2 separate regions of the Homo sapiens genome follow, and region 1 is linked to region 2. The links are contacts of gene promoters, found by promoter capture Hi-C in blood cells and fetal thymus (Javierre and others, 2016). All regions are on one chromosome and are shown on one strand. Each heading gives the region's core, a stretch centred on a gene start or on the middle of the fragment in contact. The rest is flanking DNA. Distances are from core to core; before and after follow the strand shown. Region 1 overlaps KPNB1 (karyopherin subunit beta 1). Region 2 holds the start of OSBPL7 (oxysterol binding protein like 7).

Region 1 (5,673 bases), core at 2,929-5,428, 160 kb after region 2:
TCATAAAAGAACTTCTATATTTACTCATTAGACCCCAATCTTTATGAAGTCTTGTCACTTTACTTTCATCCTGAATCTTAATAATTGAAGTTAATTATCTTAAAGGATCAGTAGAAGGGTTTCTTTCTTGGGTTGGGGTCCTTCATTAGCATCTGAATAACTTATATCCAACTTCCTTAGAATTTTAAAAACATACACCCTGTGAACTCACGAAAGTATCCTGGATATTACAACAGATACGCAAGTGGCCTAAAACCAGCACATCTTTGCTCCTAACCTTGCTTCACTGAAGCTTTGACAGAGCACCTTTCTTTTATGAGTTTGGACAATGGAGCACTCAGGAAATCAGAGCAGCATGTGGCTCATTCCTGAGCAAGATGCATCTGAGATGTTAAGACTCAGTTCTCCTTCACAAAGAAGTCAGAGCCTAGGGGATCTTATAGATGCAGCTTAGCTGTTTCTAAGTCATCAACAACAGAACATCAAATAGTTGATGGGCTGCGAAGTTCCTTCCATGGAAAGTTTCCACAGTTTACTCTTAGTAAGGTTCCACAGCTTACCTACCTATATTTGGAAGGTAACTCACCTGTTTAGTTAGTGTCTGTGTGAGGATTGGAACCAGATACTGTAGTGCTCCCTTCGCATAAAACTTGCTGGTGTGCTCAGGGGGCCGTCCTTGTTCTGCTGCCTGAGGAGAAACAAAGCAAATTCTAGACAAAAGCAACCGAGCTCTGTATACTAAAGGCATACAATGAGAGCCGAACAGGGATCTCTTAACAGAAACAGAAACATACAAGGACAAATGGTAACATACAATGTGATCTTGGAAAGTGCTAATTTTTTGGTCTACTTCAGTGAGAATCTTTTAGGCCATATAATATAGGTCCAAGGCAACATTAAGTATAACTTTTTTTTCATAAGTTCAATTCATATGGACAACCTGATATTTCAGTGTTCCTTGGATCAACACACACTCAGTTTGCCTAAAGATGCCAAAAAAAACCTTTTTATTTTTGTCCTGAAATAAAAGTGTGTAAAGACCAAGCTGGAAACAAAACTTGAATTCAAAGATCCCAAGTACAGAACTCCCCATTCTCTTCCATATCTGACTCTTTCACCAGAGTTAGTAAAGTATCAATTATACATCCTAGGCTTGCATTAGGACTTCCAAAAGGAAATAATTCAGCATCAGGCATCACCTTGGTAAACTGCGACAGCCTGCTGCCCCCTTGTGTTCACAGTGATAATACCACTATTTACGATCAATCATGCCTGACTGCTTGGCAAGAACGTGAGCCCTCATTACTGATGTGCCTCCTTCATGAAGGGCTCTGGCTAGCAGAAAAATCAAAATCTCTGCCAATGGAGATACCCTCTAAACCCAGACAGAATAAAGTTCTCCTAGAAGGGGAACATCATCCACAAATGAGATATGTCCCAAAGCGTATTCAGAGTAATAGTTCTCCCCAGCTCACCTCTGAAGCTTCAATGGCCAAATCCATTTCCTCATCACAGACATTGGACCAGAATTCTATCCCTTGTAAAGCCACCTCATCAATGTCACTTTTCATTGCTTCGATTGTGATCTTAAGAAGAAAAACACCCCAGGCCCCAAATAAGTACTGATTCAAGTGAGTCCCTGCCCCAACCCGGCTTTAACCACAGACATGCAAATTTCAGAAATGTAACTATAAAAAGGAAGCTAGGCTTGAAAGAAAAGATAGGAAAAGAAAGATTTTCTTTTCTTTTTTTTTTTTTTGGTGATGGGGTCTCACTCTGTCACACAGGCTGGAGTACAGCAGCACAATCTCAGCTTACTGCAACCTCCACCTCCCAGGCTCAAACAAACCTCCCACCCCAGCCTCCTCCATAGGTGGGACCACAAGTGCATGCCACCTCACCCAGCTTATTTTTGTATTTTTTGTAGAGGCGGGGTTTCACCATATTGCCTAGGCTGGTCTCAAACTCCTGGACTCAAGCGATCTGTCAGTCTCAGCCTCCCAAACTGCTGGGATTACAGGCGTGAGCCACCATGCCCAGCCTCAGATTTTCAAAATGCAGGTTGTTTCTTTTTTCTTTTTGAGACAGAGTCTCGCTTTCTGGCCCAGGTTGGAGTGCAATGGCGTGATCTTGGCTCACTGCACCCTCCGTCTCCTGGGTTCAAGCGATTCTCCAGCCTCAGCCTCCAGAGTAGCTGGGATTACAGGCACGTGCCACCACGTTCAGCTAATTTTTGTGTTTTCAGTATAGACGGGGTTTCACCATATTGGCCAGGCTGGTCTCGAACTCCTGACCTCAGGTGATCTGCCCACCTCAGCCTTCCAAAGTGCTGGGATTACAGGCGTTAGCCACCGGGCCTGACCTCAAAATGAAGGTCTTTTACCCACACAAAGTTAGCACCAGTTTTCTTGGCACACCACTGATGAGCTTAAACCGAACAGTCTCGAGGAATTTCCTTGATTCCATAGTATTAAGTAAAATATTACAGAATTGGCAAAATAGCGACTAAGGATGATGGGCTCTGTAATTAGCCACAAGCTCAAATCACATAAATAGAAATACTTACTGCAAAAAGAGCAGGACCCATATATGTCTCCATGTACTGATAATATAAGGACATTATCTTCACCAGATTCTGTAAAGCAGCCACTCGTACCTTTTATGAACAGCAGATCAGATAGTTTACTAAAATAACAACGCAATCTGACAAAGTTAGATTCACTCAAATGGGCCAATAATCCTAAGGATTAATTGAGGTAAATATGGGATACGTTATCATTTCCCTAAAATTCATTCTCTCCCTTTAATTCCCTCATTATCTGTTCCTTTATTTTCCCATTTTGTCTCTCTTTTTCGGGGAAGGGACAGAGTTCCGCTCCTGTTGCCCAGGCTGGAGTGCAGTGGCATGATCTTGGCTCACTGCAACCTCTGCCTCCCCGATTCAAGCAATTCTCGTGCCTCAGCCTTCCAAGTAGCTGGGACTACAGGTGCCCGCCACCATGCCCGGCTAATTTTTTGTATTTTTAGTAGAGACGGGGTTTTGCTATGTTGACCAGGCTCATCTCGAACTCCTGAGCTCAGACAATCCACTCACCTCGGCCACCTAAAGTGCTAGGATTAAAGGTGTGAGCCACTGCGCCCGGCCATTTTTCTCTTTTTTTTTTTTTTGAGACAGTCTTCTTGCTCTGTCGCCCTGGTGCAAGTATAGTGGCCATGATCACGGCTCACTGCAGCCTCAACCACCAGGCTCAAGCAATCCTCCCACTTCAGCCTCCCACGTAGCTAGGACTACAGGCTCGCCCCATCACGCACAGCTAATCTTTGTGGACATGGAGTTTCGCCATGTTGCCCAGACTGGTCTCCAACTCCTGGGCTCAAGTGATCCTCTGGCCTCGGTCTCCCAAAGTGCTGGTATTATAGGTGTGAGCCACCACAGCCAGTCCTTTTTTTTTTTGAGATGGAGTCTCCCAGGCTGGAGTGCAGTGGTGTGATCTCAGCTCACTACAACCTCCGCCTCCCGGGTTCAAGCAATTCTCCTGCCTCAGCCTCCTGAGTAGCTGGATTACAGACATGCGCCTGTAAAGTGTTGGGATTACAGGCGTAAGCCACCGCGCCTGGCCTCAGTCTTTTTTTTTGCATTAAAGGTGCGTGTGGAACCCATGGTACGGCTAAATTCACTAATACTATTCAGACTGAAGATATTACTTCTATCTTCTTGAAGGGTCAGGTTTTGGGTATAGCAATAGCAAAGCTGCTTTAATGGCTACAGGGGAAAACAATCACTTGAATAACCTATGGCAATAAAGTAGCAAAGCTGATCAAAAACCTTTTCTCCCTTAACTGTTTGTGTATATATATTTTTTAGTAGAAATGGCTTGAATAACCTACGGCAATGAAGTAGCGAAGCTGATCGAAAACCTTTTCTCCCTTAACTGTTTATTTGTGTATACATATTTTTTAGTAGAGATGGTGTCACTATGTTGCCCAGTTTGGTCTCCAACTCCTGACCTCAGTGATCCTCCTGCTTTGGCCTCCCAAATTGCTGGGATTATAGTGTGAGCCACCACACTGGCACCTTAAACCTTTTTTAAGAGGATGGCAACTTCCATGACAATTCTTCCCTCTTCTCTAATGTTTTTATTAATTATCATTATTATTTTTTGAGATGGAGTCTGTTTGCAGTGGCATGATCTTGGCTCACTGCAACCTCCACCTCCCAGGTTCAAGCGATTCTTGTACCTCAGCCTCCCCAGCAGCTGGGACTACAGGCACGTGCCACCACACCCAGCTAATTTTTTTTTATTTTTAGTAGAGACAGGGTTTCACCATGTTGGCCAGACTGGTATGAAACTCCTAACCTCAGGTGAACTGCCTGCCATGGCCTCCCTAAGTGCTGGGATTACAGGTGTGAGCCACCATGCCCAGCCAGAATATTAATTATTAGTAACAATATTAATCAAACCTTATTGCTGAAGTCAACTGATTCCCAGTATTTCAAACTTATATTAGATTTGACATTTCCTAAGAAAGATGTAAGACAGATTTTTCATATAACCTCACACTTACCCTCGTATCTGGACACTGTGTGGCTTCACAGACCACCTGCATAATAAAGTGCCTTTCAGACTGTAGGAGGAATAAAAATAAAGAGAATTAGGAGAGCATAACCTGTACGTAGGAAGATTTCCAGACTCCCTCTACAAGGAAAACCTCTCACTCCCCCTCAGGGCCCCACACAGCCCTGCCTGGTACAATCAAGCCACTCTCCCTTGAGATGGTACAGCACTATAAAGGCTATAAAGAGTTTACCTTCGGTGTCTGCTATGTGACTTGCCCTCCAATGAGGTCCCTAATCTTTTAATCTCCAAAATGACCACTAACAAAGACTTCAGGGAGGAAACAGAAAAATGTAGGTCACAAGTTTTAAATAAAAATGGTTAAAAGATAAAAATTTACATGTAGGAAAATCAGTTTCCTTATATAAGAGAATTCAAAACATCTGCTTTATTTCAGAGACCAAATTTGTTTTCTGAGAGGTAGCAAATTCACATCAAATGTGGTGAGAAAAGGGAGAATGAACTTTATGTGCTACCCTCCTAAATCTTCCAAAATCTATTAAGGAAAAATCCAGTTTTCTAATCAATTAGAATTGCCATTTGCTCTGGGGTTTCAGACCTTTCCAAAGTCAAGAAATGGTAAAAACCCAGCTGAAGTGTCAACAAACATATATACAGAAATACTTTCAGACCATGACCCTGGCAATTTTACTTGTCGGTATTTACCCTAAAGAACTGAAAGCAGAGTCTCAAAGATACACATGCATGCCCATGTTCATAGCAGCATTACCCACAATAGCCAAAAGGTGGATGCAAACCAAATGGCCATGGATGGAAGACTAGATAAACAAAATGTGGCATATACATATAATGGAATATTAATCACCCTTAAAAAGCCAATTTTGACAAATGCTACCCCTTAGATGAATCTCGAGGACATCATACTAAGTAAAACAAACCAGTCGCAAAAAGACAAATATGATTCCACTTACGTAAGGTATTTCGTTAGAGTAGTAAAATACATAGAAACTGAAAGTAAAATGGTCGTTACCAGTGGCTGAGAAAGGGGGAAATGAGGAGTTGTTGTTCAGTATGTACAGTTTCAGTTTTGCAAGAT
Region 2 (6,363 bases), core at 3,543-6,042:
CATCTGCTAGGCTTGTCTTGGTAAAACCGTGAACGTTCTTGGAGAGAGCATCCTTTCACGGATGGAGCCTGAGTAAACAGCACATTTATTGAGGGCCGACTGTCACTCCCACACCTGTGTTGTCTCACTACCCCAGGTCACTTCTGCACTGGAGGGAAGACTAGGAAAGGCAGACATGGAGCAGGGAGAGAAAATTTAGATACCTTGAGTCTAACAGTGGGGTAGTAGGTGCTGAAACCCTCACAGATGAAGATATTTAATACAAGTAGCCCAAGTAAAGGGTGCCGAGGGCCAGTGACCAGTGTTTCCCAGACTCCCCTGATGCTGACTCACTTAAGGGGCAGAGAATACTGCACATGTCCTTGGAAATCCAGATTTCACAGGTCTCTGTAGGGAGGGGGCGGGACAGGAATCTGATTTTTTTTTTTTTTTTTTTTTTGAGATGGAGTCTCACTCTATCACCTAGGCTGGAGTGCGGTGGCACAGTCTCAGCTCACTGCAACCTCTGTCTCCTGGGTTCAAGCAATTCTCCTGCCTCAGCCTCCTGAGTAGCTGGGATTACAGGCACCTGCCACCACGCCCAGCTAATTTTTTTTTTTTCGTATTTTTAGTAGAGATGGGGTTTCACCGTGTTGGCCAGGCTGGTCTTGAACTCCTGACCTCAGGTGATCCGCCACCTCAGCCTCCCAAAGTGCTGGGGTTACAGGCATGAGCCACCGCTCCTGGTGAATCTGTGATTTTAATACCCCCTCAACACTCCATGATATTTATTCAATTTTTTAATTGTAAAATACACACAAAATTTACCATCTTAACCATTTTAAATGTACAGTTCCGTGTTAAGTACATTCATAATGCTATGCAACATCACCACCATCCATCTCCAGAACGTTTTGTCTTCTAACAGTGAAACTCTACACCCATTAAACAATAGTTCCCCGTTACTTCCCTCCATTCCATGATTCAGGGTCTCACTCCCATTGCCCAGGCTGGAGTGCAGTGGTCCGGTCATGGCTCACAGCAGCCTGGACCTCCTTGGCTTAATCCATCCTCCCACCTTAACTTCCTAAGTAGCTGGGACTACAGGCGCATGCCACCATGTCCAGCTAATTTTTGTATTTTTTGTATTTGTATTCACCATGTTGCCCAGGCTTGTCTTGAACTGCTAGTTTCAAGCAATTATGCCACCTTGGCCTCCTGAAGTGTTGGGATTACAGGCGTTTTCCACTGCACCCAGCCTGATTCTTTGTTTTTTTGAGACGGAGTTTCGCAGTTGTTGCCCAGGCTGGAGTGCAATGGCGTGATCTCAGCTCACTGCAACCTCCGCCTCCCAGGTTTAAGCGATTCTCTTGCCTCAGCCTCCCAAGTAGCTGGGATTACAGGTGCTTGCCACCATGCCTGGCTAATTTTTGTATTTTTAGTAGAAACGGGGTTTCACCATGTTGGCCAGGTTGATCTCAAACTCCTGACCTCAGGTGATCCACCGACCTTGGTCTCCCAAAGTGCTGGGATTACAGGCTTGAGCCACCGTACCCAACCTCATCCTGATTCTTTTTTTTTTTTTTTTTTTTGAGACGAAGTTTTGCTCTTGTCACCCAGGCTGGAGTGCAATGGCACGATCTCAGCTTACTGTAACCTCTACCTCCCGGGTTCAAACGATTCTCCTGCCTCAGCCTCCCGAGTGGCTTGGATTACAGGCGCTCGCCACCATGCCTGGCTAATTTTTGTATTTTTAGTAGAGACGGGGTTTCTCCATGTTGGCCAGGCTGGTCTTGAACTCCTGACCTCAGGTGATCTGCCTGCCTCAGCCTCCCAAAGTGCTGGGATTACAGGCATGAGCCACCACACCTGGCTGCCTGATTCTTATTTACAAGGAAGTTTAGGAAACACTGACTTAATAGGGGTCAGGGCCAGGTGGATATATTAAGAGTTTTCTGAGGGAAGAGTGAAGAAGTAGGGATCGATCCCAAGCAGAGTGGGTGTGGTGTGGGGCACAGTGGAACCCAGGTCCTGGGGAAGGCAGGATTTTGAGAAGGGCAATGGAGAGCAAGTTACTAGGGTCAGAATATTGTTTTCAGAGAAGAAAGGCAATCTGCAAGGAGCCTAACTGACCCTGTGTTCTTCCAGGTGGCTGCATTGATGACACCATCCTCAGCAGGCAGGGCTTTATCAACTACTCCAAGCTCCCCAGCCTGCCCCTGGTGCAGGGGGAGCTTGTAGGAGGCCTCACCTGCCTCACAGCCCAGACCCACTCCCTGCTCCAGCACCAGCCCCTCCAGCTGACCACCCTGTTGGACCAGTACATCAGAGAGCAACGCGAGAAGGATTCTGTCATGTCGGCCAATGGGAAGCCAGATCCTGACACTGTTCCGGACTCGTAGCCAGCCTGTTTAGCCAGCCCTGCGCATAAATACACTCTGCGTTATTGGCTGTGCTCTCCTCAATGGGACATGTGGAAGAACTTGGGGTCGGGGAGTGTGTTTGTCACTTGGTTTTCACTAGTAATGATATTGTCAGGTATAGGGCCACTTGGAGATGCAGAGGATTCCATTTCAGATGTCAGTCACCGGCTTCGTCCTTAGTTTTCCCAACTTGGGACGTGATAGGAGCAAAGTCTCTCCATTCTCCAGGTCCAAGGCAGAGATCCTGAAAAGATAGGGCTATTGTCCCCTGCCTCCTTGGTCACTGCCTCTTGCTGCACGGGCTCCTGAGCCCACCCCCTTGGGGCACAACCTGCCACTGCCACAGTAGCTCAACCAAGCAGTTGTGCTGAGAATGGCACCTGGTGAGAGCCTGCTGTGTGCCAGGCTTTGTGCTGAGTGCTGTACATGTATTAGTTCCTTTACTGCTGACCACATTGTACCCATTTCACAGAGAAGGAGCAGAGAAATTAAGTGGCTTGCTCAAGGTCATGCAGTTAGTAAGTGGCAGAACAGGGACTTGAACCAAGCCCTCTGCTCTGAAGACCGCGTCCTGAATTTCTTCACTAGAGCTTCCTCATCAGGTTACCCAGAAGTGGGTCCCATCCACCATCCAGGTGTGCTTGGATGTTAGTTCTCCACCCTCGAGGTGTACGCTGTGAAAAGTTTGGGAGCACTGCTTTATAATAAAATGAAATATATTCTACTTCCTTTATTTTGTGGTTTACACGGTTGTCCTCCCTCTAAACTTACTCTCAGGGGCTTCTCTGTCATCTGACTTTCCTCACTCTTGCTTCCCTTCCTAGGAAAATCCTCTTCCCCTATACCTGTTCCCACAAATGGCATCCCGCGCATGCTTGCCCTATTAAAGGCAGCTGACAGCTGTACCCACTAGCTAACGTGTCTCTGGTGGTTCTGGACAAAAGGCCTGCGGGAAAACTAGGATTCTCTATTAATGGGGAATTCTGAGAGCTCTAGGGTAGGAGGCCTCATGCAAGTCTTCATGAACCAGAAATTCCTAATAAAGGAGACGGGATGCTTAACTCAGAGTCCACCATCATCCTTGACTGGAGCACATTCTGGGTGGATGCAGGGGTGACCCGGGGAAGGTGGCTGTTCAACATTCCTTCTCGGACTTGAAGCAATGCCACCGCTTCCTTAGTCTTGGACAGGCACTGTCTGGCAGGGATGACCTGCAGCAGCTCTTTTGTGGCCTGGGCCAGGACCAGCTTCCCCCAGTGCCTCATCCTGTGCTGTATGCCCAGGGATGTTCAATCACTGGGAAGTGGCTTAAAAGGCCCTTGAGGCTCCTGGATGCCAGAGCTTGTCTGGTCAGTGCTGCCCAGTGCTCCTGTCCCTCCCAGAACCCTGCCAGGTGCTAACAACACCCTCCTCCTGGGGTGGCTGGAGCAGCACTGAGGCTCTGAATAAAGGCAAGACAGTGGGTGTTCCCGAGAGATATGTGAGACCCTGAAACGTAAACCAAGCTCGGTGAGGATGAAGTGGAAGGGATAAGTGGCCCATGTCACTTTTGGGGTCAGAGAAGAAACTTGAATCACATCCTTCACCTGAGGCCCCACCTACTTCTTTCCAGAAAACTTAGCTGCGCTTGAAACTGTAGGTCTATGCCACATTCATTTGAATGAATTTTAGATCTTTGTTAAGAGCCGATTTTTCATTAGAATTGAGCAGCTGGGCACAGTACTCCAGCAGAAGGGTAAAGGGAAGGGAGGGGACCAGCATTGCAGCCCTTTTAACGGCAGCTGTGACTGCCCCAGGCCTGCTCCTGATCAGAGACTGCAGGCTGTGGGGTGTCTTCATACACACAAGCACTTTCAGATCTCCATGGGGCCTGACCTAGTGGGGCATCACCCCAGTGAAGGGCCTCAGTGTGGGGACTGCTGGCTGTCCCTTTCCTGGCTTGACTGCCCCTGCTGACTGTGCTCTTGGCACTCTCTTATGGTCCCAGAGGGGGCATCTGTCCCTCCACCATCAACCTGATACTTTTGCTGGCTCCAAATTTTGCAGTCTATTTTCAGATGTAAAATGAGAGGCGGGGGGCGGGGGTTAATTAGGAATTGGCCTTGGGTACTAACAGGGTCACTGCCATGCTAGTCTGAATAAATCCTTTATCACCACTGGCGTACAGCCAACAGTTCCCCAGTCCTCTGATCTATCTGGAACCATGCCCAGCAGGGACTGTGCCCCCACTCCCAAGCCACATCGATGCTAGGGCAGTCTGCTCAGCCCTGAGTCCTCCGGGGAGCAGGGGGGCAGAGCTGAGCGGCTGCCCGGAGCTTGGCGGGAGGAGGGGACAGGGGAGAGGGAGGTGGGGAGATCCGGCTAGAGGGGAGGCTCTGACATCTCCTTCCTTCCTGGTTCCTGCAGCAGCTGCTGCCACTGCTCAGCGCGGTGAGGAGGGAGCCGGTGACTCGGAGACGGTGACTCAGAGGCAGAGCGGCGCAAGGGCCAAGGAGTACTGGCGTCCATGGACCCTGGGGTAAGGGGGCTGCGTGGCAGCAGCTGACATTCCTGAGAAGAGCTTCCTCCCACCTGAAGCTGGTGGGTCTGCTCCTGAATAGAGGTGGAGAGGGGGCACCCACCTGGCTCACCTAGACCCTTCACCTGCCTACCGATAGAGCCTCCCCCTCTACCCACAAGCAGTGAGGGGCCAGGATCCCCACAGGGCCGGGAGAAGGGCCCAGAGATACCTGAACACCGGAAGAGTTTGAGAACTTTCAATGGCTGAATGCAGGAGTTTCCTCCCAGGTCAGCCTCTTGCAGCAAGGGTCCCTCTGCCCCAACCTCCTGGGCACCCGTTCCTGCCACATCCCTGTCCCCTCTGGGCCTCAGTTCCTCAGGTGCTTGCTAGCTCCATTAGAAGATCTGGGCTGCTTCCCCCACCTCAAACCAGCCTCGCCCCTCCAGTCCCCTCCCCCGTCTCACACATGCAGAGCCTCATGCATTATTGATCTCCCGGTGGAGCCAGGATGGCCAGGGCCAGTGCCAAGGGTGCCTGTGGGCACTGCTGCAGGACCTGTGCAGACCTGGGCATGTCCTGGGCCCCCTCTTCTCTCATGAAGTATCTCCTTTAGCCCAATGTCCTGCCCTCTCTGGGTGGGTGGCACTTCTCAGAGCCCCAAGGACTGTGAGGGTAGACAGGGGATGGTGAGGCTTTAGGGGGTACTGAGGGTCCAAAAAGGGCATCCTAGGGGCATGTTTGGTGGGAGGAGACATGGGAAAATGGGGGCTATCTCAGGCCTCAGTTTCTCCAAGCACTAGATAATATGGAGATTAATTGGTGGGAGGCTGGGGAGTTTTCTGCAAGATCATGGCAGAGAAGTCTCTGAGCTACGGTGGCAGGGTGGAGGGGTCCTGAAGGCAGAGGCAGCTGGATTGAGGAGGTCTCGCTTGTCCAGTCTCTGAACCCCTCTGTCTCTTCTTGGAGCCTCTTCTGTCACTCCCTTGCTTCACCTCTGAGCACTCCCAGGGAAGCCTCTAAAGAAAGCACTGAATGTTTCTTGGAGCCCCAGAGTATGTGCCCAAGGCGGGGCTGGGCATATGTCTTGTGGTTTTCCCTGGGCACCTGCCCGTCTGCTGTGTGCTAGTTCACTCTCAGGGCAGTGTCCATATCAGGTGAAAATGGGTGGGGTCGGGACAGAGGGGCAGACTTGGGAGAGGCTTGGCAGGTGAGCAGAGGGTATGTTGGGGAGCCCTTATCTCAGAGGGTGTGGGAGGGGCTGGAGGTGGGGAAGGTGATAGCAGAGTTTGCGTTAAGGGGGTCTTTCTCTTGCTTCAAGGACCCCGTCAGGAGCAGGTGACATCCTTCCCCTTCCACCCTGCTCCCTGCTCTACATCCCCAGCAGGGAGTGGCCTCTCCCTTCTCCATGGACTTCCAAGAGAGGGACCCGCCCTTCCTGCCTGAGAGCGCTCAGTCCTCAAA

Evidence for each region. Contacts are between HindIII fragments. The CHiCAGO score rates a contact against its expected background, and 5 or more counts as called.
Region 1: a fragment that was not itself captured here is called in contact with the fragment with the promoter of OSBPL7 in region 2 in 5 of 17 cell types (M2 macrophages, total CD8 T cells, activated CD4 T cells and 2 more); the score reaches 9.6 in M2 macrophages.

What each region holds. Positions count from the first base shown.
Region 1 is chr17:47,660,072-47,665,744 of GRCh38, reverse strand. It overlaps KPNB1 (karyopherin subunit beta 1), which reads right to left. Exons shown (of 22, transcript NM_002265.6): 6 at 4,567-4,626; 7 at 2,567-2,656; 8 at 1,476-1,586; 9 at 587-688. Among named protein-coding and RNA genes, the nearest start is that of KPNB1, 13 kb to the right of the region's middle. RefSeq lists enhancers at 1,837-1,906, 5,438-5,587. The HindIII fragment of the contact is 5,386 bases long and covers 1,486-5,673 here.
Region 2 is chr17:47,820,223-47,826,585 of GRCh38, reverse strand. It overlaps OSBPL7 (oxysterol binding protein like 7), which reads left to right and starts at 4,792. Exons shown (of 23, transcript NM_145798.3): 1 at 4,792-4,920; 2 at 6,221-6,363. The coding sequence starts at 6,308. It overlaps MRPL10 (mitochondrial ribosomal protein L10), which reads left to right. Exons shown (of 5, transcript NM_145255.4): 5 at 2,128-3,314. The coding sequence ends at 2,381. RefSeq lists an enhancer at 4,334-4,503 and a silencer at 4,614-4,829. The HindIII fragment of the contact is 20,101 bases long and covers 1-6,363 here.